7 separate regions of the Homo sapiens genome follow, and all the other regions are linked to region 4. The links are contacts of gene promoters, found by promoter capture Hi-C in blood cells and fetal thymus (Javierre and others, 2016). All regions are on one chromosome and are shown on one strand. The core of a region is centred on a gene start or on the middle of the fragment in contact, and the rest is flanking DNA. Distances in the headings are between cores, read along the strand shown.

Region 1 (3,183 bases), core at 406-2,905, 390 kb after region 4:
CTTTAGGCTGGTACATGGATACCATTCTCCAGGGGCCAGAGTACTTCTGCTATCTAGATTTCCTTGGCCTCAGAGTCCTGCAAGAAGACCCTGGGATAGAGTCTGTTTTTGAGAATTGTACCTGCAAGGCCTGCATGGGCTTGGATGTAACACTTTGTGGGGTCCTTCTCTTCTAGACTGTGCCTACCCTGAGGCACTATCCCTTGATGGGGAGGAAGACTTTGGGGGCAAGATGAGTGTTATAAGTGCGTTTTTCTCATACCCCAGTGCTACCCTTTCTCATGTCCAGGGCTACCCTTGTCCTGCTTGCAATGTCTTAAGATCTGTAGTGGAACAGAAGGGCTGTGGAAACTGTCCTCAGTATCCTGGAATGGGGCATGGAGTGACTAATAACCACCATTTATCGACTAATTTTTGTGCTAAGTACATCACATGATTTTAATGCTTGTACAGATGAGGAAATAGGCTCATGGAGGTTACAAAGTGCCCAAAGTGACACAACTCCTGGAAGGCTCAGAATTCTAACCCAGGTCTCTGGTTACAAAATTCATATGCTTCCTGTTACACCTGTGGTCCTGTTAGCAGAACTCTAACATATTGGGTGAGAAAACTTAAAGTAACCATATACTACTATAGGGGCTATTCAGCTAGAGGTGATGTGCTCCCTTGATGAGATCTCTGAAGGTGAGGGCATATGGTAGACAGTTCCAGCCCCATCTTGATCCCTGAGTCTCAGCTTATCAGCTGTACCACCCGCTGGATTTGTCTTCCTGCCTTCCCCCTTGCGACTCTTTTGTGTGCAGCATTATGCAGCAGAAGAGTGAGGTGACTGAGACTACTGTGGGGGACCTGGAAACAAGGACTCTCTTAATGATGCCTTGTACAGAAGCCCAGTGGGCAGACCAGATGTGCAGTCTAAGGTTGCCAGAGGACATGTCTGTTTTTTGCCACTCCCCTTTAGAAGTCTCTTGAGGACTAACCTGTTCACACTCTGGTTTTCTTTTCTTTTCTTTTTTTTTTTGAGATGGAGTCTCACTCTGTCGACCAAGCTGGAGTACAGTGGTGCGATCTTGGCTCACTGCAACCTCTGCCTCCCGGGTTCAAGCAATCCTCTGCCTCAGCCTCCTGAGTAGCTGGGATTAGAGGTGCCCACCACCACACCGAGCTAATTTTTTTTTTTAAAGTAGAGACGGGGTTTCACCATCTTGGCCAGGTGGGTCTTGAACTCCTGACCTTGTGATCCACCCGCCTCGGACTCCCAAAATGCTGGGATTACAGATGTGAGCCACCGTGCCTGGCCCACACTCTGGTTTTCTACCCTAACTGCTAATCAGTGAATGGAATGTTCCCTGTGCTGTGTCACTTGCAGGCTCCCCATTGATCTGCAGGCTACATCAGCCTAAGATGAGTGGGGAGTCTTAAGCAATTTTCATCTGAAGCTTCTTCCAAACAACCATTCTGAGGCGACATTCAGAACGGGATTAGGTCTCTCTTATGTGGAACATGGACTTCCTCGGCCCAACCAGGTCTCTTGTAAATCTTCCTCAACTCCCAGTTCTCCAATACTATATTCCCAGCAGTACAACAGTGCTTGGCTAATGGCTGTCTAATACATATTTTTTGAATGAATGATGAGTGCTGAGCCACTGTGTTTATCCTGGTTGTTTTTTAACTGCAGAGTTCAGACAAGGTCTCTCCCATTCTTCTGCCTCCTGCTTGTGTTGATTTAGCTGGATGGACAGATTCTTCAAAGATCAGTATCTTGGGCCCTGTAGCTTCTAGGGGACGGTGATGTAATTATACAAAGTTTTCATCATACAGTGGAGCATGAGCTGTATTGTGGAGTCAAGTAGTCTATTTGGGAAAGCTTTCAGTGCAGAGAGGAGGGAGAACCTGGGAAGCAGTGTGGCCAGGGAGGCCTCCTAGGTGAGAAAGAAGTTGAGGTGGTTAGTGACAGGGGCAGGATGTGTGCTGACCTTACAAGGGACATGAATATGTCTTTTCTACAGGTAATGGAACTTGCCTGATGATCAAGACTGGGAGTTATACTGGGGAGAAGGGCTGTGTTTGTCACTAACTTGAACTTGTGGGATCCACAGTCGGGGGGAAGTCCACACTCTGTTTACCGCCACAGTAGAGATATGGTATAGAGTTGCAGATTTGGGGTCACAGGCAGAGTGGTCTGTTTTCATACATGGAATGAATGCTACTCTCCCCCCTTCCTATTCCTTCAGAGAGATCCTGAGTAAGCAACCTAGAACCAAGGATGGTGATAGGGAAGAAGGGTTCCAGGTATACGGCCTTATATCACAGGCTAGAAATAATGGCTCCTGGTCTGGATTTTCCCCGTTAGATTTTTTCCCCCATTAGACTATTCCCATTAGATAACAAATATCTGACCATCATGTCTTGGGGCTAGTCTCTCCTTCAGCTAAGCTCAAGCTCAGATGGTCTTATAATGCAGGCATTCAGTGCCAGGCTCTTGTTGCCATTGCTAATGCTGCCATCACACTCCAGGTGCCTTTGTACTCTTGGGGAAGGCTTCCGAAAATTTGAACAGTGACTCAGCTGTAAAACCGACAGGAGCTGGCATAGAAGGGTGAAAGTAGAGAAAATTAACAATCAGTCTAAAAATATCACTGCTGATTTGGTCTCTTATACCCTCTGAGGTAGCATTAATGAACTGGAACCCTCTGCCAGGTCCTCTCCTCCCCATGACTTCCCTGAGAGATGTCTGTAGCTGATTTCCTGCCAGCATGTGAATGGGGATGGGTACGTCTGTTCTAGGAAGAGCACAATGTCTTACCCATTTTTAGAAGATAGGAATTTGCTGGACACTTGGACACCAGAGCTGGAGGCACTTGGTAAACCTCAGACTTTCCATGATCCCTTGTGTTCTGGAGGCCAGGAAAGAACAGAGCAAAGAGGTCAGGGCCTTGGCCGTTATTGGAGATTGACTCTAGGACTTCTCACCACCCCTCCCCCTCCTCTAATCCATCTAGGTTAATACTTGACATTTGGAATTATGAAGTTGTGTGCCCCATGATGGGGAGTGGACTTTGAGATGAGACACTGGCCTGCATTATAAGGGACCTGTCATTTCCACTGGATTTTAGTTTGTGTGGCTTAAAGAGAATGCCTTTCCAGTTAGGTATGCTCGTGGCTTTGAATATAAATGGGAAC
Region 2 (3,228 bases), core at 651-3,150, 300 kb after region 4:
TGTCCCCCACACCCCTCATTTCATGACTGCTTCCTTTCCCACCTGAAGCAAATCATTCTGAATTTTCTGTTTATCAATAACATCCTTTTTTTTGTACTTTTACTATAGATAGACGTGTTCCTAAACAATATATAGTACCATACTTTGTGATGGTGGTGCGTACTACACGTTTTCAAATTTTATATAAATGGCATCTGAGAGTATGTTTTCTCCTACATCCTGCTTTTTCACTCAATATTGTTTGTAAGTCATGTTGATGTGATCTGCTGTATTTCATTTACTTTTACTTATATATAGAATTCCATTGTATGACTATACCATAATTTATTGATCCACTCTCCTGTTGGTGGGCATTTAAGATTATTTTATTTTGTTTTGTTTTTGTAACTATTAACAAAACAGCTACAGACATTTTTACTCATGTTTCTTAACACGTATGAAAGTTTCTCTAACATATTTTCCTAGGAATGGAATTGCTGGGTCATAGAGTATACACTTTTTCAAGTTAACTAGAGAATCCAAATTGCTCACCAGAGTTGCTATACTTCACATCAATAATATTTCTAGCAGCTTTATTCATAATAGTCCCCGAAGTGGAAAGAATTCAAATTCCAATCAATAGGAGAATGCAGAAATAAATTATGGTGTATCTACACAATGGAATACTACTTAGCAATACAAAGGAACAAACTACTCCTACATGCCAACAACATGGATGGATCTAACAGGTATGTTGAATGAAAGAAACCAAAAATTATATGAAGTCTAGAACAGGTTAAATGAATCTGTAATGAAAAGCAGTAAGGTAACGGTACCTTGAGGAGGGAGGTATAAAGTGGGAAGGGGCAGGAAGGAACCCAGTGGGGGTTCTGGAGAGATTCTATGCCTCCATGCGGGTGGTGGTTACCTCGGTATACACTTAAGATTTGTGTACTGTGGCCGGGCGTGGTGGCTCACGCCTGTAATCCCAGCACTTTGGGAGGCCAAGACAGGTGGATCACAAGGTCAAGAGATCCAGACCATCCTGGCTAACAGGGTGAAACCCCGTCTCTACTAAAAATACAAAAAATTAGCCGGGCGTGGTGGCGGGCGCCTGTAGTCCCAGCTACTCAGGAGGCTGAGGCAGGAGAATGGCATGAACCCAGGAGGCAGAGCTTTCAATGAGCCGAGATCTCGCCACTGCACTCCAGCCTGGGCGACAGAGCGAGACTCCATCTCAAAATAAATAAATAAATAAATAAATAAATAAAAAAGATTTGTGCACTCTATGCATTGCCTTCTCTCCATTAAAAGATATGAAACATAAAAGCACACACCAAAGTAGCTGAATCAGTTTACGCCCTCACTAGCAGTGATCCTGCTACTGGGACAGTGAAAGTTGATCATTTTTTTCCATTTGAAAAGTGTGGCACGGCATCTGATTGTGGTTTCATTTGCATTTCCCTGGTTACTGATGAGGGTGGGCATCTACTGATGTTTCTTGGCCATTTGGATTTTCACTTGTGTCAACTGCCCATTCTCATCTTTTGCCCATTTTTCTGTGGAGTTGTGTTTTTTCCTCATTGATTACAGAACTTCTTACATAGTCTGGAAACTAGTTCTTTGTAAATACATGGATTGGAGATACCTTCTTCCAGTCTATGGCTTGTCTTTTCAAGCTTTAAACAATATCTTTAGCTGGGCGGTGGCTCACGCCTAATCCCAACACTTTGGGAGGCCGAGGCGGGCGGATCACGAGGTCAGGAGTTCGAGACCAGCCTGGGCAACATGGTGAAACCCCGTCTCCACTAAAAATACAAAAATTAGCCGGGTGCGGTGGCAGGTGTCTGTAATCCCAGCTACTCTGGAGGCTGAGGCAGAAGAATTGCTTGAACCCGGGAGGCTGAGATTGCAGTGAGCCGAGATCGTGCCACTGCACTCCAGCCTGGGCGACAGAGCAAGACTCCACCTCAAAACAAACAAACAAACTCTTTTAGTAAACCAAAGTTTTTAATTCCAGTGTGGTCAAATGTATTGTCTTCCTTTATATCCTGTGCTTATTGTTCCAATCTTATTTTTCCAAGTTTACAAAATTCATCCACGGGCTGAGGTAAAAAAAAATTCTCCTATATTTTCTTCTGAAAAAATTCTAAGTAAAGCTTTTCAGAATTGTATTTTTAACTTACTTTTGTGTACGATGAAAGGTGGGGCCAATCCACTCTTTCTTTTTTTTTTTTTTTTGAGATGGAGTCTCGCTCTGTCACCCAGGATGTAGTGCAGTGGTGAGATCTCGGATCACTGCAAGCTCCGCCTCCTGGGTTCATGCCATTCTCCTGCCTCAGCCTCCCAAGTAGCTGGGACCACAGGCGCCCACCACCATGCCCAGCTAATTTTTTGTGTGTATTTTTAGTAGAGACGGGGTTTCACCATGTTAGCCAGGATGGTCTCGATCTCCTGACCTCATGATCTGCCTGCCTAGGCCTCCCAAAGTGCTGGGATTACAGGCATGAGCCACCGCGCCTGGCCCCAATCCACTTTTTTATCCCACTTAAAAGGAACTTGAAAAAACAAAGAACATGGTTTCTTCTGTACAGAGCTTGGCAAAACTTGAGCAGAGACTGTGTGTGTCTACCTTGTGGTCTTGAGTTCCTGAGTGAATTCCTTTTCTTATCTTTTGCAACCAGGAAATTATTTTCTCCCATCAAACTTCTCTCTTCTTTTAGCTCTCTGCCTCCTGCAGAAGCACTGAACACTTGAGCATATAAAAGACTATAGGGTCCCTCCTGTTTCCCTAGTACACATATTTAAAATGTAGTCCAGCTAATTATATAGTTGGACTTAAAATCAGTATTGTAAGTCTGGGGCTTGACTGCAGAGACAGTGCCAGGCATAGCTGGGCTCAAAGGCTGTTTGTTGACTGGGAGAATAGATAATGCTGCCTATTTGTTTCTGCTGCTTCTGCCAGTGACCAGCTGTGGGGACTTGACCAAGTCATTTAATAAATTCACCTCTGTCACTTTCCACACCCTGCCCTGTGGATTATGGTCACCTTCAGAGGGACTGTTCTTCCTGTATGACCTGCAGGCCTAGCCAAGTCCAGGTAGGGAACAAGGACTTGCCCACACCTGAGGTCATGACTGCATTTGGTCAAAGTTACCTCTTCTCTCAACATCTGCAGTCAGCTCTGGGGTCATTCACAGATAAGCACACACATAAGCATGCTGGAAGTTTTATTCTCACCTGGTTAAG
Region 3 (3,027 bases), core at 398-2,897, 370 kb after region 4:
TTCTAACTACTGTTCCCCTATTAGGCCAGAAACCACCTTACATACTTTTGTATCCTGATGTCTGTTTCCTTCCTAGCACCTTGCTCACAATTATACTTTATCACTTACACCATTATCAGGTTTTTCTCTACCACTACAATAGTAAACCCAAAAAGACAAGAGCTGTAACTTTTTTTTTTTTCTTCACTTATATCCTGGTTGCCTAGCTAGTGCCTGACACTCAAGATTCTCATTTATTAAGTAGTGTATTTTTTAACCTATCATATTGGCAGAACTTAAAGTTGAATAGTACCAGTGTTGGTAACAGTGTTCACAAATGCATAGGAAATGGTACAAAAGGAATATCTCAAACTGTTCATTCAGAGAAGAGAGTAGGATTGAGGACAAGGAACGCTGCCGAGATGTGAAAGTGATCATCTTTTACTTATTACTTGCATGCTATTTTAAAAAACAAAATGGAATTTTACAATATAATTGTATAAAGGGCATGGTGGGGGAAGGGCTCGGGTTTTGAATGAGATGAGTGCTTAGCTTGGTCAAATTGCTTCACCTGTTTTGTGCCATGGCTTTAATGCTTGTAAAAGGGATATAATGCCTGTCTTCTCCATGGGGTTGTTTTGAGGAATGTGGTGATAGTTGTAAGTTGCCTAGTTCTTCCTGGACTTCAAAAATAAGTTTTCTGCTCTTTTTCTCCCTTGAAAAGTGAGAATGTGATGTTTCATTTAAATTTTGAAAGTCTTATTCTGCATGGTACCACCCCCATCTGCTGGAATGTCCAGACTTTGCCGCTGAAAGCTTAACTGTTGGTTGTGTCTTGATCACAGTCTGTATTACTTCCACTTTGGAGAATGTGGTCTAGTTTCCAAACGTAGATATGTTGCATCATTTTGTCTGGAGAATAAATGAGTACATTTATGGGGGTAGAGGGAACTATGCAGAGATCAGCACTTAAGGCTTCTGGAATTAGTACTGGGGGGAGGGTCTTCCTACTGTGAAATAAAGGGCTTCCGCTAAATGCCCTCCAAAGTCACTCTTATTTTTAATGTTTTGTGGCTTATTTAAATTTATGATCCTAATATCATTTTGTCATTGAACTCCTGATGTCAAATTTGAAATCTAATATGGGCTTTTATCTGCAAAAACTACTCAAGTTTATTTAGGGGATGTTGTCACCTTACCCAGTTTAATAGCTTGCATTTTTTTTCTTGTTACAATGTGTTCACTGTAAAAAAAAAAAAAAAAAAAGCAAATTAGGAAAAAAAAATTATGTCATCTTACTACTGAGAAATAACTATTGTTAACATTTTGGTGTATCTCTCCAGTTTTTTTTTTCAAACGTGTATATTAAATATTTTGAACACACTATTTGCCTCTTTTATCTTTGTGTTAATTTTTTATATCCCTTTTCAAGGCTACATAGCATTTTACTGTGTAGATAGATGCATTATGGGATTTTTTTTTTTTTTTTTTTGATGGAGTCTCGCTCTGTCTTGCCCAGGCTGGAGTGCAGTGGCGTGATCTTGGCTCACTGTAACCTCCTCCTCCCAGGTTCAAGCGATTCTCCTGCCTCAGCCTCTAGAGTAGCTGAGATTACAGGTGCCCACCACCACGCCTGGCTAATTTTTGTATTTTTAGTAGAGATGGGGTTTCACCATGTTGGCCAGGCTGGTCTTGAACTCCTGACCTCAAGTGATCCACCTACCTTTGCCTCCCAAAGTGCTGGGATTACAGGTGTGAGCCACCGCACCCAGCCTGCATTATGGGATTCTTAACCTGGGTACATGGATAGAATTCAGGGGGTCCAATAATTTAGACAGGTAAAAACTTGTATCTTCACGTTCAGTGATGTTTAACTGAAACGTAGCTTTTTTTTTTTTTTTTTTTTTTTTTGAGACGGAGTCTCGCTGTGTCACCCAGGCTGGAGTGCAGTGGTGCGATCTCCACTCACTGCAAGCTCTGCCTGCCGGGTTCATGCCATTCTCCTGCCTCAGCTTCCTGAGTAGCTGGGACTGCAGGCGCCCACCGCCATGCCTGGCTAATTTTTTGTATTTTTAATAGAGACTGGGTTTCACATTGTTAGCCAGGATGGTTTCTGTCTCCTGACCTTGTGATCCACCTGCCTCGACCTCCCAAAGTGCTGGGATTACAGGTGTGAGCCACCAAGCCCAGCTGCATTTCTTTTAACTGTAAGTTTAGGCAACAAGTCACAATATTAGCAGGACCTAATAATTTGGTATCAATAGGATGATCAGACAATTCATATTGATTCCTTTACAGGCATTGTACATACCTTGACATTTATTTACTATTTCAATATTATTACTATTTTATATGTTTTGAAACATTTTTCTTAGAAGGTTTATTGGTTTTAGCAGACTGCCAAATGGTTCATGATACAAAAAAGGTTAACCTCTGGCATTCAGTTTTCGTATTTTGGAGTTTGTTTAAATAGGTGCCTATTTTATACACTTATAAGAAGTACCTGAAGTTAAAGCTTTTGCCTGCATCTGTGATTATTTGGACATAGGATAAATTTCTAAAAGTAGTATTTCTTTATCAAAGAATAAATCTTTTGAAGCTTTCAATGTTTTTGTCAGATTGCTCTCCAGAATGTTGTACCAATTTACCCTCTATATGGAAATACCCTGCCTTCCTGTTTTAAATAACTGGCTTTTATATTATGTAGATGCAGTCGTGATTGGCACTGTAAAGGGTCTCCAATTTGATGTACTGTTTAAGGAACTTCTGCAGACCCCAATTTGAACAGTGTAGTGTCAGGTAAAGTAATGTTTCATTGTGTTTTGGTTATACTAGTTTTACTAAAACTAGTTGTTACCTACAACCTAGATGGCATGTTGTATTCAAGGACTCTGAACCAGAGTCTTCAGGATGGCGTGCTTCAGAACTCCCCCATACCATAAGCAGTAGATTGGATGATGCTAGCCTTGAATCAGCAGTCGTCTTTTTTGCTCTCCATGGGTAAGAAGTAAAATTATCGCCTTTGAAAATAATATATGCACATAGCAG
Region 4 (3,206 bases), core at 473-2,972:
CCTGCAGTCGCAGCTACTGGGGAGGCTGAGGCAGTAGAATCGCTTGAATCTGGGAGGTGGGGGTTGCAGTGAGCCGAGATCACGCCACTGCCACTGCACTCTAGCCTGGGTGAGCAGAGTGAGACTCCGTCTCAAAAAAAAAATAATAAAAATAAAATAAAAATGAAAAACTCTGATTTCAGTGGCTTGCCTTTGAAGTTATTCGAACACTTCAGAATCCTCAGGTATTACCTGATAAATGACTTGTTCAGTGTTCTACAAGCTCACTTTCCTGATATTGCTGATTACTATGCATGGAGGATTTGGAAACTCCCAAGATTATTTTATTTTTTACAAACTTATTTTGTATTTATTTATTTATTTTTTTGAGACAGTCTGGCTCTTTTCACCAGGCTAGAGTGCAGTGGCATGATCTCGGCTCGCTGCAACCCCTGCCTCCTGGGTTCAAGCGATTCTCCTGCATCAAGCCTCCCGAGTAGCTGGGAGTAGCTGGGACTACAGGAGCACGCCACCACACCCGGCTATTTATGTATTTAATTAATTAATTTATTTATTTTTTGAGACGGAGTCTCGCTCTGTTGCCCAGGCTGGAGTGCAGTGGTGCGATCTCGGCTCACTACAAGATCCGCCTTCCAGGTTCACGCGATTCTTGTGCGTCAGCCTCCGGAGTAGCTGGGACTACAGGCGCCTGTCTCCACGCCCGGCTAATTTTTTTTGTGTGTGTGTATTTTTAGTAGAGACGGGGTTTCACCGTGTTAGCCAGGATGGCCTCGATCTCCAGACCTCGTGATTCGCCCGCCTCGGCCTCCCAAAGTGCTGGGATTACAGGCGTGAGCCACCGCGCCCGACCTGTCCCTTGACTTTTTTACTGTCCTGAGATGCCAGGCTTATGTGGGCGGTGTGTTCCCAGCAGAAGATGATCCCGTGGAAGTCCCGGGGGATGAAGGTTAGGTTAGTCCCAGTGCCAGCCTTTGGTAGAAACTCAGGACCTGATAGGTAGAAAGGCGACGAAGAGAGCCTGCTCTTCTTCAAGTTCTACTTTTGCCATCCTAATTCCCCTCGCTCTAAGGATAAAACCAAGCTTGATGAAGCCGCCTTAAAACTGCCCCTTCAAGTGGGAGCCCTCATCTCATTTTTATCCAGGAAAGAGCCCAGAGCATCTGCCGCGGCCTGTAGGCTCTTCTCTGCCAGGCTGGCTTCCGAAATTTCACGGTGGCGGGTACCTTAAGGCCACTCGGCCGGGCAACTGGCAGGAAGATGAAGGTGGGCTTTAAGGAGGAGCACAGCTATGCCCATCTCAGACTCTGGAGACCCGAACGAACTCTAATCTGAATGTGTGACCTTGGGCAAATCACTTACCCTCCCCAGGCCTCGGTTCCCTTATCTGCAAAGTAAAGGTAGCCCTAAAGTCCCCGCCAGGTGTGAATGGGACTTTAAGTCCATCAGGCAGGATGTTGATGGCACTGCGCCAGGGCCCCGGGTCGGCGTGGGGCGGGGGCGCGCCAACGCGGGGCCGGCACCGAGGACTGGGTGGCCCGGGAGAAAAGCGGCGACTGCGCGGCTGCGCGGGGGACGGTGCACACAGTGCTGCGCCCCCCGCCTCTTGGCTCGCTGCCGCGGCCCGGGGGCCACGAGGTTACGTAAGGAGCCGGGCGGGGGTAGCGGCTGGGGAGGGCGGGGCGGGCACCGCCCCAGCGCGGCCGCCCAGCCCCCGCCCGCCCGCGCCTGGCGGCGGTGGCGGCAGTGGCAGCAGTGGCAGCCGCGCAGCCCCGCGGAATGGAGCGGCGCCGGGGCTGAGCCGGGCGCGCACGGGCCGCCGCATGTGCCGCGCGGGGAGCGGCTGCCGAGCGGGCGGAGAGCGAGCGCGAGAGGCCCCGTCGGAGCGGCCGCCGGAGCAGCGCCGGAGATGGGGTGAGTGAGCCCGCGCCGCGCGCTCTCCGCGCGCCCCTCCGGAGGGACTGCGGGGCCGCGGCTGGCGTAACCGGGCTCGGAGCCTCCCGGCGGGCCGGCCCCCGCCTCCCCAAGCCGGAGCGAGCGCACACTCTGCGCCCGGGAGTCTGGGGCCACCTGACCCGCGCCCTCCGCCGGGGCACGCGGACACCCAGCAGGGGCACCCTGGCCTGGGCGCGGAGCCCGTGGCCCTTCCCCTCCCATACAGCCCGGGCACGGGGGCACCTGACGGGGACCGGTGCCCTGGCCGGCCTCCTGCCTCGGCCATTCCGCGGTCTCTTCGCCCCTGGGCGCAGTCAACTCCAGGGCCTGTGTGAGTCTAAGCAGTTTGTCGTTCTCCACGTTTGGATTTATTACAAGCAAAATGGAAATCGAAGTTTTCCTGGAAATAATCAAATAATAATAAACCTCCAGCGTAGGAATAGTGGACTTTGGATCTGCTTTGAGATGCTGAAGATGATGGAAGTCTATAAGGAACCTAGGTGAGGCTTCAGTCTTTGAAACAACTGAGTAGATGCTCAGGAGGGAAGTTGAAATACTCTGTCGAAGTGACTAATGCTTCTGAGTATATAAAGTAATTTAAGCTTTCCCCTCGGCGTCTCTCTGAGCAGTAGGCTCTGTGAGTCTGGGAGCCACTGTGCTAATAGCACAATAACTCCTTACATCTGCTCACTCTATTTGGGCACACGTTGACGGTTTGCCATACGTATTCAGGGGACACTTATGTCCACTTTACAGATGAGGAAACTGAGGCACAAAGTGGTTCGGTGACTTCCCCCAGGCTGTGTAGTTGATGAGCATTTGTGTAGCAGGGGTGGCCTTGCCACTGCCTGACGTGGGCATGGAGGCGGGTAAGTGAACCAGAATTCCTAAATCTCTCTGTTCCCTGCTGCTGAACCCAGCATTCTTCCAACAGCCCTTCGCAGGACTCAAATGCTTCTGCTCCAAGGGTCTAGAGATCTTGCTTTCCTGTTTGGGATGGGTGGGGCCTGGGAAGGCAAGAGTGCAGTGGAAGGAGCAAGATTGTCCTGGTGCCCTGGCTCAGCCCCCCTGGGTCAGTGGCTTTCTTGCACCGTACTCCAGGTTAAGTTTCTGGAGTCATTTTGCCTGGTGAGTCTTAGCCATGGGAGCTGCAGAGTGTGTGAGGGGATCAGAGGCAGGCCAAGAGGAATTTTGAGGAATGGAAGTGTGAGGGCTGTGGGCCAACATGAACTGGACATGACAGAGGTGGGTGACAGAGAGGAGGAGGCGAGATG
Region 5 (3,481 bases), core at 452-2,951, 340 kb after region 4:
TAGAATATTACAGCTGGGTGCAGTGGCTCGTGCCTGTAATCCCAGCACTTTGGGAGGTTAAGGTGAGAGGGTCACTTGAGCCCAGGAGTTCGAGGCTTCAGTGAGCTGTGATAATGCTGCTGCACTCCAGCCTGGGAGCAAGACCCATATTTTTATGTGGTTAGGAGTGACGAAGAGGACGCTGGGAGCCTCCCGAGGAGGCCAGTCCCTTTCCAGCAGCCCCTGGGGCCGTCCCAGGGTAGGGAGTCTTAGAGCCCCAGGGTCCCACCCAGGGTGTGTGTCTCTCTCCCGGTGGGCTTCCCCAGGCATCAGCAAGGCCACTGCTTGGCGGAGGCTTGCCGGCAGGGACTCAGAAGCAGCGAGGCTGAAGAGGATCCTGGGAGCCTCCCAAGGAGGCCAGTCCCTTCCTGGCAGCCTCCCGGGCTGTCCCAGGGGGGCATTGAGGGGGGAGCGGGGCGGGGTGGTAGAGTTCCAGGCTCCCATCCAGGGTGAGTGTCTCTCTCCCCGGGGGGAGCTTGTTTCCAGTCTTAGGGGAGGGGTTGTGAGTGAACTTCTTAGCATTTCTCCTTTAAATATGCTGAAGTTGTGAATGTTTTTTATCTGATTAAGAAAGTTCTTTTCAGACTTTGCCAAGAGGCTTTTAAAAAAAGAAAATCTGCAGGATGCAGTGGCTCATGTCTATAATCCCAGCACTTGGGGAGGTTGAGGTGGTTAGAGACCAGCCTGGGCAATGTAGTGAAACCCCATCTGTACAAAAGTATGAAAAGCCGGGTGTGGTGGCACGTACCTGTAGTCCCAGTTACTTGGGGCTGAGGTGGGAGGATCGCTTGAGCTCAGGAGGTGGAGATTGCAGTGAGCCAAGATCGTGCCGCTGCACTCCAGCCTGGGTGACACAGCCAGACACTGTCTCCAAAAAAACAAAACAAAACAAAAAAACCCCCAAGAAAACAAACATAAAATCATGAATGTTATTAAATTATATCAGCTTTTCTGCATCTATTCATTTAACCTTTCTCCTTTATTCTATAGATGTAGGAATAACATTCAGGAAAGAATACCAAAGTAAAGCCAACTTCGCATTCCTGGAATTAACTCAAGTTGTTCATAATATATTTTATTTAGTATATTGTTTGGATTTCATTTGTAAATGTTGTCTTCAGGATTTTTGTATTCATGCACATAAGAGATAAGCTTGTAATTTTCTTTCCTTAAAATATCCCTGGTGTCAGAGTCGTTAGCTTCTTGAAGCAAATCATTAGCTTCTTGAAAAGTTTTTTTTTTTCCTCGCTGTTCTTGAGAAGAGCTTGTGTGAAATTTATAATAGTCTTCCTTAAATTTTGATATAATTCATTGCTGAAGCCACTTGGGCCTGGAGTGTGTTTTTGTTTGTTTTTGTTTTTTTGAGGAACAGTTTTTAAAATGTGGATTCAGTTTTTTGTTTGTTTGTTTTGTTTGTTTGTTTGTTTGTTTGTTCTTTTTTTTGAGACAGAGTCTCACTATGTTGCCCAGGCTGGAGTGCAGTGGTGCAGTCTTGGCTTACTGCAACCTCCGCCCCCCAGGTTCAAGCGATTCTCCTGCCTCAGCCTCCTGAGTAGCTGGGATTACAGGCGCCTGCCACCTGCCCAGCTAATTTTTGTATTTTTAATAGAGATGGGGTTTCACCATCTTGGCCAGGCTGATCTTGAACTTCTGACCTCATGACCCACCCGCCTTGGACTCCCAAAGTGCTGGGATTACAGGTGTGAGCCACCTTGCCTGACCCAGTTTTTAAAATACAATTATTCAAATTTCTGTGTTTTTTTTTTTGTTTTTTTTTTTTTGGACAGACTCTCGCTCTGTTACCCAGGCTGGAATGCAATAGTGTGATCTCAGCTCACTACAACCTCTGCCTCCCGGGCTCAAGCGATTCTCCTGCCTCAGCCTCCCAAGTAGCTGGGACTACAGGGGTGCTCCACCATGGCTGGCTAATTTTTGTATTTTTAGTAGAGATGGGGTTTCACCATGTTAGGCAGGCTGGTCTCGAACTCCTGACCTCAGGCAATCCACCCGCCTCAGCTTTCCAAAGTGCTGGGATTATAGGCATGAGCCACCGCACCTGGCTCAAATTTCTATTCCGTCTTCTAAGTTTTGCTAAGTTGTGTTTTTCTAGGAATTTCTCTGTTTCATTTAAATTTTCAAATTCATTGGCATAAATGTTTATGTAAAAGCTTCTTCTGATGTTTTAGAATTTCCAGTTTTTATTTTATCTTATTTTTTTGTATTTTTTTTTAGTGGAGACAGGGTTTCACCGTGTTAGCCAGGATGGTCTCGATCTCCTGACCTCATGATCTGCCCACCTCGGCTTCCCAAAGTGCTGGGATTACAAAATTTCCAGTATTTCTTAACATTACGTTTGCTTTTTTTTGTCTGTGTTACTAATCTTTTTTTTAAAATAAACTTTTGGCTTTGATCCCTCCCTCCCCCGATTCTGTTATACATTTCTTTTATGTGTCATTTATTTTTTTTCCTATTGTTTTCTTTGGGTTTGATTTACTGTGTGTTTTTTTTAAACTTATTGAGATGAAAATTATTAGATCATCGTGTTTTTGTTTTTTGGGGTTTTCTTTTTTTTGAGACGTGATTTCTTGGGCTCAAGTGATCTTCCTGCCTCAGCCTCTTGAGTATCAGGGACTGCAGGTGTGTGCCACCGTGGCTGCTGGCTAATTTTTATTTTTATTTTTTTGTAGAGATGGGGTCTTGCTATGTTGGCCAGGCTGGTCTTGAACTCCTGGTCTCAAAGGGTCCTCCTGCCTCAGCCTCCCAAAGCGTTGAGATTATAAGCATGAGCCACTGTGCCTGGCCTACTATTGCCATCTTAACAATATTAAGTCTTCTAATGCATGAATTGGGGATTTTTTTTGTTTTAATTTATTTCAGTGATTTCTTACAGTTTTCAGTGTCCAAGTCTTGCAATTTATTCATAAGTATATTTATTTTTCATGCTATTGTAAGTCAAACTGTTAATTTTATTTTCAGATTGTTCATTGCTAGTGTATAGAAATAGAGCTGGTTTTTGTACATGGATTTTTGTGTGTGTGATTTCTTAGGATTTTTTACATCTAAGATCATGCCTTCTGGGTGTATCATCTATAAAGATAGTTTTACTTTTTTTTCCATCTAGATGCCTTTTGTTTCATTTTCCTTCCTAATTGTGCTGGCTAAAATCTTCAGTACAGTTTTGAATAGAAGTGAAGAGAGCAGACTTCATTCACCATTAAATATGATGTTAGATGTGGGTGTTTTTGTAGGAGCCCTTTATCAAGTTGAGGATTTTTTTTTCTTTTTTTCTTTTTTTTTTTTTTTTTTTTTTTTTTTTTTGAGACTGGAGTCTCACTCTGTCCCCAAGGCTGAAGTGCAGTGGCGTGATCTTGGCTCACTACAACCTCTGCCTCCCGGGTTCAAGCAATTCTCCTGCCTCAGCCTCCAGAGTAGCTGGGATTAC
Region 6 (3,419 bases), core at 512-3,011, 320 kb after region 4:
GTTAAAACACAGTCAAAATTTAATTTCATGTACAGAATTACTAAAAATATTGTATAAAATTAACTTCAGGCTATGTGTATGAAGTATATATAAAAAATAAATGAATTTGGCTGGGCGCAGTGGCTCACGCCTGTAATCCCAGCACTTTGGGAGGCCAAGGTGGGCGGATCATGAGGTCAGGAGATCAAGACCATCCTGACTAATGTGGTGAAACCCCATCTCTACTAAAAATACAAAAAAATGAGCCGGGCGTGGTGGCGGGCGTATGTAGTCCCAGCTACTCCAGAGGCTGAGGCGAGAGAATCCTGTGAACCCGGGAGGCGGAGCTTGCAGTGAGCCGAGATCACACCATTGCACTCCAGCCTGGGCGACAGAACGAGACTCCGTCTCAAAAAAAAAAAAAAAAAGAGAAAAAAATAAATGAATTCTGTGTTTAGACTTGGGCCCTATCCCTAAGATAGGTCATTATGTATATGCAAATGTTCCAGCTTCCAAAAAAAAAAAAATCCAAATCTGAAACACTTCTTGGTCATCTCAGCATTTCTGATGAGAGATACTGAACCTGTAGTGGATTCAGCCCTTAGGTCTATTTGAATCATATCTCTTGCCTTTTAATTAAGCATTTTAAGTCAAATGATTAAGAGGAAGAGTTAGGGGGTACCAGGAATAGAAGGGCCTGGAGTCTTCAGAGAAATAGTTGCCATAGGTCTTTGGTTCACTTAATGAGCCAATAGATCCTTCCTCAAGGATCCCTGTGGTGGCCTCTGAATAATAATAATGATACGACTGATAGACAGTATTCGTTGGTTCAGCACATAATTACATGTCAGGCCCTATGCTAAGTACTTTATGTGCATTAATTCACAAAAAGCCTTATGAGATAGTATTACTTTTATCCCTATTGTACACAAAGGAGAGTAGTAGATCTGTTCGCCATCTGACAGTCCTGGCTTTGATTTTTTTTTTTTCCTTCCAAATTGGTTAAGGCAAACATTGGTAATTATAAGATGAAACAGTTTGGAATATACATTGAACACCTCATTCACTTTTATTATAATGTCATCTTAAGCTAGAGCTCTGGCTTGATGTATGTGAGAGAAGGGGAGGGAGGCATGTCAGATATCATTTGCCTTGATTTGGGAAGGTGTGTATGTTCCTAACAGGATTAGGAGTGGGGCAGGGTGACCAGACACATTCCTAAATTAGATTTTTTTTTCAGACTCCTTGAAATAGTAAGATTTCCTTCCTCTCCTAAGGAATACCTTTCTCCCAGACTCCCAAGTCTGCATCTGTTCCCTAGACTACTGTGGTACTTTCTCACTAATCCTTCTGCCACTTATCTGTCATGTAGTTGCTGGTGGTCTCCTTCTAAGACTCACTTTGTTATTTACTTGCCTTTAGATGTGGCCAGGATCTGGAATCCATGTAGTCCATATATATATAGTACTTTTATTACAGTAATTAAAAGCTAGGTTAATTTTTGTGTATTGAAAAGACACAATTTTGTGTATTGAAAGACAATGCTGACTCCTTAATTTGGCATATGAGGCTTTTCCAATTTTCTCTCCTATACCTAATGCTGTACCACACTGGACCACTTTTGATAATGCCTCTCTACTCTCTTGTGTTCTTTAGAACTTCCTCTTTACCCCCATTTCCAGGCACATTCTGTCCCTCCAGGCCACCTTGGCTTGGAGGACAATGTACATTTACAGCACGTTGTAGTCTGTGTTGTGGATGTTTACAGGATCGGGTCTTAGTTCTTTTTCTTTCTTTTTTTTTTTGAGACAGGGTCTTGCTCTGTCACCCATGCTGGAGTGTGGTGGCACAATCTCTGCTCACTGCAACCTCTGCCTCCTGGGTTCAAGCATTCCTCCTACCTCAGCTTCCTGAGTAGCTGGGACTACAGGCATGTACCACCATACCTGTCTAATGTTTTGTATTTTTTGTAGAAACAGGGTTTCGCCATGTTGCCCAGGCTGGTTTTGAGCTCCTGCCTGCCAAAAGTTCTTTTCCAGACTTCAAAACTTTATTTTGGTTTAGTCTGTGTCTAATCTGCTGCCCCTTGGGGTGCTCACTATAGAGAGCAGGCAGTCGGCTAATGTTTATTAGGCAGTGAAGAATGAAGCATGTAGCCTTAAGATAATGCAGATTGTGCTAGGCAATGGCACGTGCCTGTAGTCTCAGCTACTCAGGAGGCCAAGGTGGGAGGAGCACTTGAGCCCAGGAGTTTCAAGTTCAGCCTGGGCAACACAGCGAGACCTCCTCTCTGCAGGTTATAAATCTTTGCATCTTAGCCTTCATGAAGTTGCCTTCCTGAAATTGAGAATCAGCTTAGAAATCTACAGTTGTGAAAAGGGCCTTGTGTGTCACTGGATTTAACAGTTCTCAATGGCACCACTCTAGAGAGCTTGGGAAAACAACCTTGTAGGATTGTGTATTTTGGTCGTCTTCACAGTTTGCAGAGGGTACCAATCTTCAAGAACTTGAGGCTGACGTGAGGCTCAAGTTTGTCCCTTTAAGGTCATCCTGCAGAGTTGGTAAAACTGTAAATGCTCTTGGTCATTCTCATGCTCACTTGGATTTTAGTAGGCCAAACAAAATGACATTGGGCCTCTTCTTGTTTTGTTTTGATGTGACCAGCTTATGAGATATTAAGTGCCAGTTTCATTACTTGGTCTGTTTTTGTTTTCCGCAAGATAATTGAGGATAATAGAACTGATGAGGCAGGCTCCCCTTAAAAAACTCAATCTGTCAACCAATATTTCATTGCTTCTTATGTTGGGCATTGGCTGTGGAGAGTGAGGGAGACCGGAGTGAAGAATGGTACCTACATTTCTGCTTTGGGCATCTGGTGGATGGTGGTGTTATTTACCGAGATAGGGAATACCAAAAGAATAGTTTTTGTGTAAGGGTTCATGATTTTTTATATATATATATAGGAGTTCTTTTTTCATTCGGTAATGTCTTACCCATCTTCTCATGCCAGTTAATAAAGTTGTATGTACTAATAATGACCACATAGAGTTGTATAACTTAATCAGTTTGGGTGGTTTTACCACTGTTGGTACTTACCTCTCTTGTATTCAATAATTAGTGTTTGCAGATACAAATTAGCAGCTACTGTATGCCATGCAAAATGCTTTACATATGTCATCAAAAAGTTGGTATCCTTTTTCCATTTCACAAATGGGGAAACTGAGGGATAGAGGTTAAGTAACTGTGATATCACACAGCCAATAAATGGCAGAATGAAAATTTTTAAACAGCTGTATTGACATAAAATCTACATACCCTAAAGTTCACCTTTAATGTACAGTTCATTGGTTTTTAGTCCAGTTGACTCTTGGACAGTGTGGGAGTTAGGAGGACCAACCCCCACAGTCAAATATCTATGTATAACTTTGACTCCCCCAAAA
Region 7 (3,145 bases), core at 513-3,012, 400 kb after region 4:
CCTACAGCTGTTTTTCCCTGGTCCTGCCCTTCCTGTGCCTTGTGACCTCCCAGTCTGTGGGGGTGAATTCCTCTTTAGCCCACACCCACCTGTGGGTCACTTCTTCATTCTTATTCAGGGCTTTATTTAGTTTTGTGGGTTTTCCCCATAAGATTCTCTCTTCCTACGCTTTTTCTAATATCAGCCTTATGTATCCTTGGCAGCATGGGTCTCTAACGAGTTTATCTCACCTGGGGATCTCATTGCACATTCTTGGGCCTTATCCCAGACTTACTGAATCACTCTGGGTGGAATTTAGGAATCTCCAACTGAATAAAGATCCCCAGGTGGTTCTAGTGGGTAGTGTTTGAGAACCACTTGTCAAAGCAAGTTTTGAGCTCAGGAATCAGTGCGGTGGTAAAATCGGATTTGAGAGCACACAACTTTTGTGACATTGGACTAGATATTTAATATCTCTGAAACTTTGTTTCCTCTTCTCTTCTATAAGATGGGAAACTAAAATGCCTATTTTAGTAAAAAAGATCAGTGGTTGCCAGGGGTTTAGCAGGAAGGGATGAAGAGACATAGCACAGAGGATTTTTAGGGCAGTGAAACTATTCTGTATATGGTGGATACATGTCATTATACTTTGGTCCAAACCCATAGAAGGTAAAAGAAACACCAGGAGTGAACTCTGATGCAAACCATGGACTTTCGGTGGGGATGATGGGTCAGTATAAAAAAATGTTCCACTCTCATGCGGGATCCTGATAGTGGGGAAGTCACGCAAGTGTGGGGGCAGAGAGTATTTGGAGAATCCCTGTACTTTCTGCTCAGATTTACTGTAAACCTTAAAGCTTCTCTAAAAAAATCTATAGGGTAAGAGGAGAAATGCCTATTTTATTGGGATGGTCACATTAGATTTAAAATAAATCCATGTAACAAAGCTGGCTCTTGTTCTGTGTTAGAGAGAGGGCAGGCTCATCCTCTGGCTGCCCACAGTGACCCACAGCTTCCCTACCTTCTCTGCTTCTTTATTCTCTGGAGCTTGTGTAGTCTTCCCACCTTAGTATGTTCTAGGACTTAATTAACATGCTCCTTTTTCCTCCCCTCCTGCTTTCACAACCAGAGATGGCCATATGCATATCACAGAGCCCTTCCCCTTCCTCCTCAGTGCCCCTGTAGACACCATCCTGTCTCCCATTCCCTCCCATCACCTTACAGGGATTTAATCTTTCTTTGATTCACTGGCTATAGGCTGATGCAGTTCTCCTTCCTCTCTACTTTTCTTTTTCCTTTGTGTTCCTCTCCCCGCCAGCACCAACATAGCCAATATAGCCAATCTTTGACTCCCTTCTTCTTTTCTAGTTCAGATAAATGACTCACTTTGTGGCTTCTCTCACCTTTAGACCCAGATTCACCTTTCTAGCCTCATGTCCTACCTGAGCCTCACCTTCCTGTGGGATCCTTCTTCGGGATGTCCTGTAATCCCAAACTCTTTTGTGGGCAAAATTGGCTTTTTCATCTTCCAGTGAAATTGGCTCCCCTCTTGTAACTTCTGCCAGGTCCTCTCATCCCAAGACCGTGTAGGCCCAGCACCTACCAGGCCTGATTCTTCCTTGCTTGCCCATCCTGCTTATGCTGTCTGAGTACTGCAGACTCTTCTGTTGAAGAATCTCTTTGGTCTTGGCCTGTTCTCTGCTCGTTGCCACCAGCCTTGTCCAAGTCTTAATCACCTGTCCTTTGAAACTACTGTTTTTGCCTCCTTGCTGGTTTCTGCCTCAGATCTCTTCCTGCTTCAAGACATATTTTTAGATCTTCACTTCATTCTGGACTCCTCCACCTGCTCTACAAGGTTTTGTTCCAGGTTCAGGAGATTCAGAGGCAAAGGACATGGTCAGCCCCAGCCCTTTAAGACTCCAGGGATCTTGTATGTGACTTTCTACCCAACCTCTCGCCAGTCATTTCCACTGCTCTGGCACAAACCCTCTGAAGGCTAGGTTGGGCCAGTAACCATCTCATACAAATATCGTAAGCACTCCCACCCCTCTGTCCTTCAGGATCCTAGCCTTTAATTTCTCTGTGAGTCCTTCCTTTCTTGAGGACTTCAGATTATGCCCTTTTCATCAGTGTCCACAGCCCTTTGTTGGAACTACACAGTTGGAGGTTGAAATAGAATGCTGGGCTCCTGGGTTTGGCCATGTGGTACTTTTTTGCTTACTCTCCAGCATGAGTGAGTACTGTGTCCACTTCTACCATTCTGGACACATGGACTCAGTAAAATTCAACTCCAGTTGGGGTGGAGTCAGGGTGGTTTATTGGACGCCTGTGTGCCTGAGATTGGGCAACAGCACCTTTTCACCCCTGTAAGGGCGTTAGCTTAGCTTCAGTATCTCCAGAGCACGTACCTTGCCGTGCAAGCACCTCTCTCTCTGTGGCTCTCTGCCAGGGCTGATACACCTTTGGGTGGTTTTCAGGTGCAGGTGATCCCCTGGGTATTAGCCGACAGTAACTTTGTCCGGAGCCCATCTCAGAGGCTTGACCCCAGCAGGACGGTGTTTGTCGGTGCTCTGCATGGAATGCTAAATGCTGAGGCCCTGGCAGCCATCTTGAACGACCTATTTGGTGGAGTGGTGTATGCCGGGATTGACACAGATAAGCACAAGTATCCCATTGGTAAGTGTCCCACTTCTGTGTGCGAAAGCTTGGTTGGCCCCTGGGAGTAGACCAAGATTGTGATACTTCCCCATGGGAGTGAGGAGAGAGGCCTGACCCAGGTCTGCAGATCAGCATATACCAGCACCATAATATCTTTTTCTAGACAAGTCACGAGTACTGGCCCTTCTGTATCTAGCCCTCTACCCACCATCTCCCACGCAGTGGGAGAAAAAGCTATTGGAGACTACAGGAGGTGATAAGAAGTGAGAGTGAGGTAGGAACTTTGTTGGAAGCTCAGAGTTCACAGCGAAACCAGTTTGGAACAGACAACAGGTACTATTTCATGAAAAGGCTGCAATTCTCTGAACTTGCCTGGAGTTTTTTATTAAAAGTTCTTGAAAAGCTCTGGCATTGTCTAAGGTCAGAGACCAGGTCAGGCTGGAGGAGGACTTTCTGAGTGAGTCAGGCAACAGAGTGTGGCCTGTGCTTTCCTAACTCAGAAGTCTGT

Evidence for each region. The method cuts DNA at HindIII sites, captures the fragments that hold promoters and counts their contacts. A CHiCAGO score of 5 or more calls a contact.
Region 1: a contact is called between a fragment that was not itself captured here and the fragment with the promoter of HOMER2 in region 4, in 10 of 17 cell types (non-activated CD4 T cells, naive CD4 T cells, naive B cells and 7 more). The highest score is 9.1, in non-activated CD4 T cells.
Region 2: a contact is called between a fragment that was not itself captured here and the fragment with the promoter of HOMER2 in region 4, in 1 of 17 cell types (total CD8 T cells). The highest score is 5.1, in total CD8 T cells.
Region 3: a contact is called between a fragment that was not itself captured here and the fragment with the promoter of HOMER2 in region 4, in 14 of 17 cell types (total CD8 T cells, activated CD4 T cells, erythroblasts and 11 more). The highest score is 10.3, in total CD8 T cells.
Region 5: a contact is called between a fragment that was not itself captured here and the fragment with the promoter of HOMER2 in region 4, in 3 of 17 cell types (total CD8 T cells, activated CD4 T cells and total CD4 T cells). The highest score is 5.7, in total CD8 T cells.
Region 6: a contact is called between a fragment that was not itself captured here and the fragment with the promoter of HOMER2 in region 4, in 8 of 17 cell types (naive CD8 T cells, total CD8 T cells, activated CD4 T cells and 5 more). The highest score is 8.8, in naive CD8 T cells.
Region 7: a contact is called between a fragment that was not itself captured here and the fragment with the promoter of HOMER2 in region 4, in 16 of 17 cell types (total B cells, naive B cells, erythroblasts and 13 more). The highest score is 11.8, in total B cells.

What each region holds. Positions count from the first base shown.
Region 1 is chr15:82,565,474-82,568,656 of GRCh38, reverse strand. All of the region lies in intron 4 of CPEB1 (cytoplasmic polyadenylation element binding protein 1), which reads left to right. Among named protein-coding and RNA genes, the nearest start is that of RPS17, 27 kb to the right of the region's middle. The HindIII fragment of the contact is 428 bases long and covers 1,442-1,869 here.
Region 2 is chr15:82,650,138-82,653,365 of GRCh38, reverse strand. It overlaps CPEB1-AS1 (CPEB1 antisense RNA 1), which reads right to left. Exons shown (of 4, transcript NR_046096.1): 3 at 3,220-3,228. Among named protein-coding and RNA genes, the nearest start is that of CPEB1-AS1, 4.0 kb to the right of the region's middle. The HindIII fragment of the contact is 480 bases long and covers 1,661-2,140 here.
Region 3 is chr15:82,583,122-82,586,148 of GRCh38, reverse strand. All of the region lies in intron 3 of CPEB1 (cytoplasmic polyadenylation element binding protein 1), which reads left to right. Among named protein-coding and RNA genes, the nearest start is that of RPS17, 44 kb to the right of the region's middle. The HindIII fragment of the contact is 1,699 bases long and covers 798-2,496 here.
Region 4 is chr15:82,951,236-82,954,441 of GRCh38, reverse strand. HOMER2 (homer scaffold protein 2) reads left to right here and starts at 1,722. Exons shown (of 9, transcript NM_004839.4): 1 at 1,722-1,911. The coding sequence starts at 1,907. RefSeq lists an enhancer at 1,972-2,472. The HindIII fragment of the contact is 1,453 bases long and covers 1,084-2,536 here.
Region 5 is chr15:82,610,835-82,614,315 of GRCh38, reverse strand. The region is part of intron 3 of CPEB1 (cytoplasmic polyadenylation element binding protein 1); the gene reads left to right. Among named protein-coding and RNA genes, the nearest start is that of CPEB1, 35 kb to the left of the region's middle. The HindIII fragment of the contact is 1,016 bases long and covers 1,194-2,209 here.
Region 6 is chr15:82,628,971-82,632,389 of GRCh38, reverse strand. The region is part of intron 1 of CPEB1 (cytoplasmic polyadenylation element binding protein 1); the gene reads left to right. Among named protein-coding and RNA genes, the nearest start is that of CPEB1, 17 kb to the left of the region's middle. The HindIII fragment of the contact is 7,050 bases long and covers 1-3,419 here.
Region 7 is chr15:82,548,970-82,552,114 of GRCh38, reverse strand. CPEB1 (cytoplasmic polyadenylation element binding protein 1) reads left to right here. Exons shown (of 13, transcript NM_001365242.1): 10 at 2,457-2,655. Among named protein-coding and RNA genes, the nearest start is that of RPS17, 10 kb to the right of the region's middle. The HindIII fragment of the contact is 1,847 bases long and covers 839-2,685 here.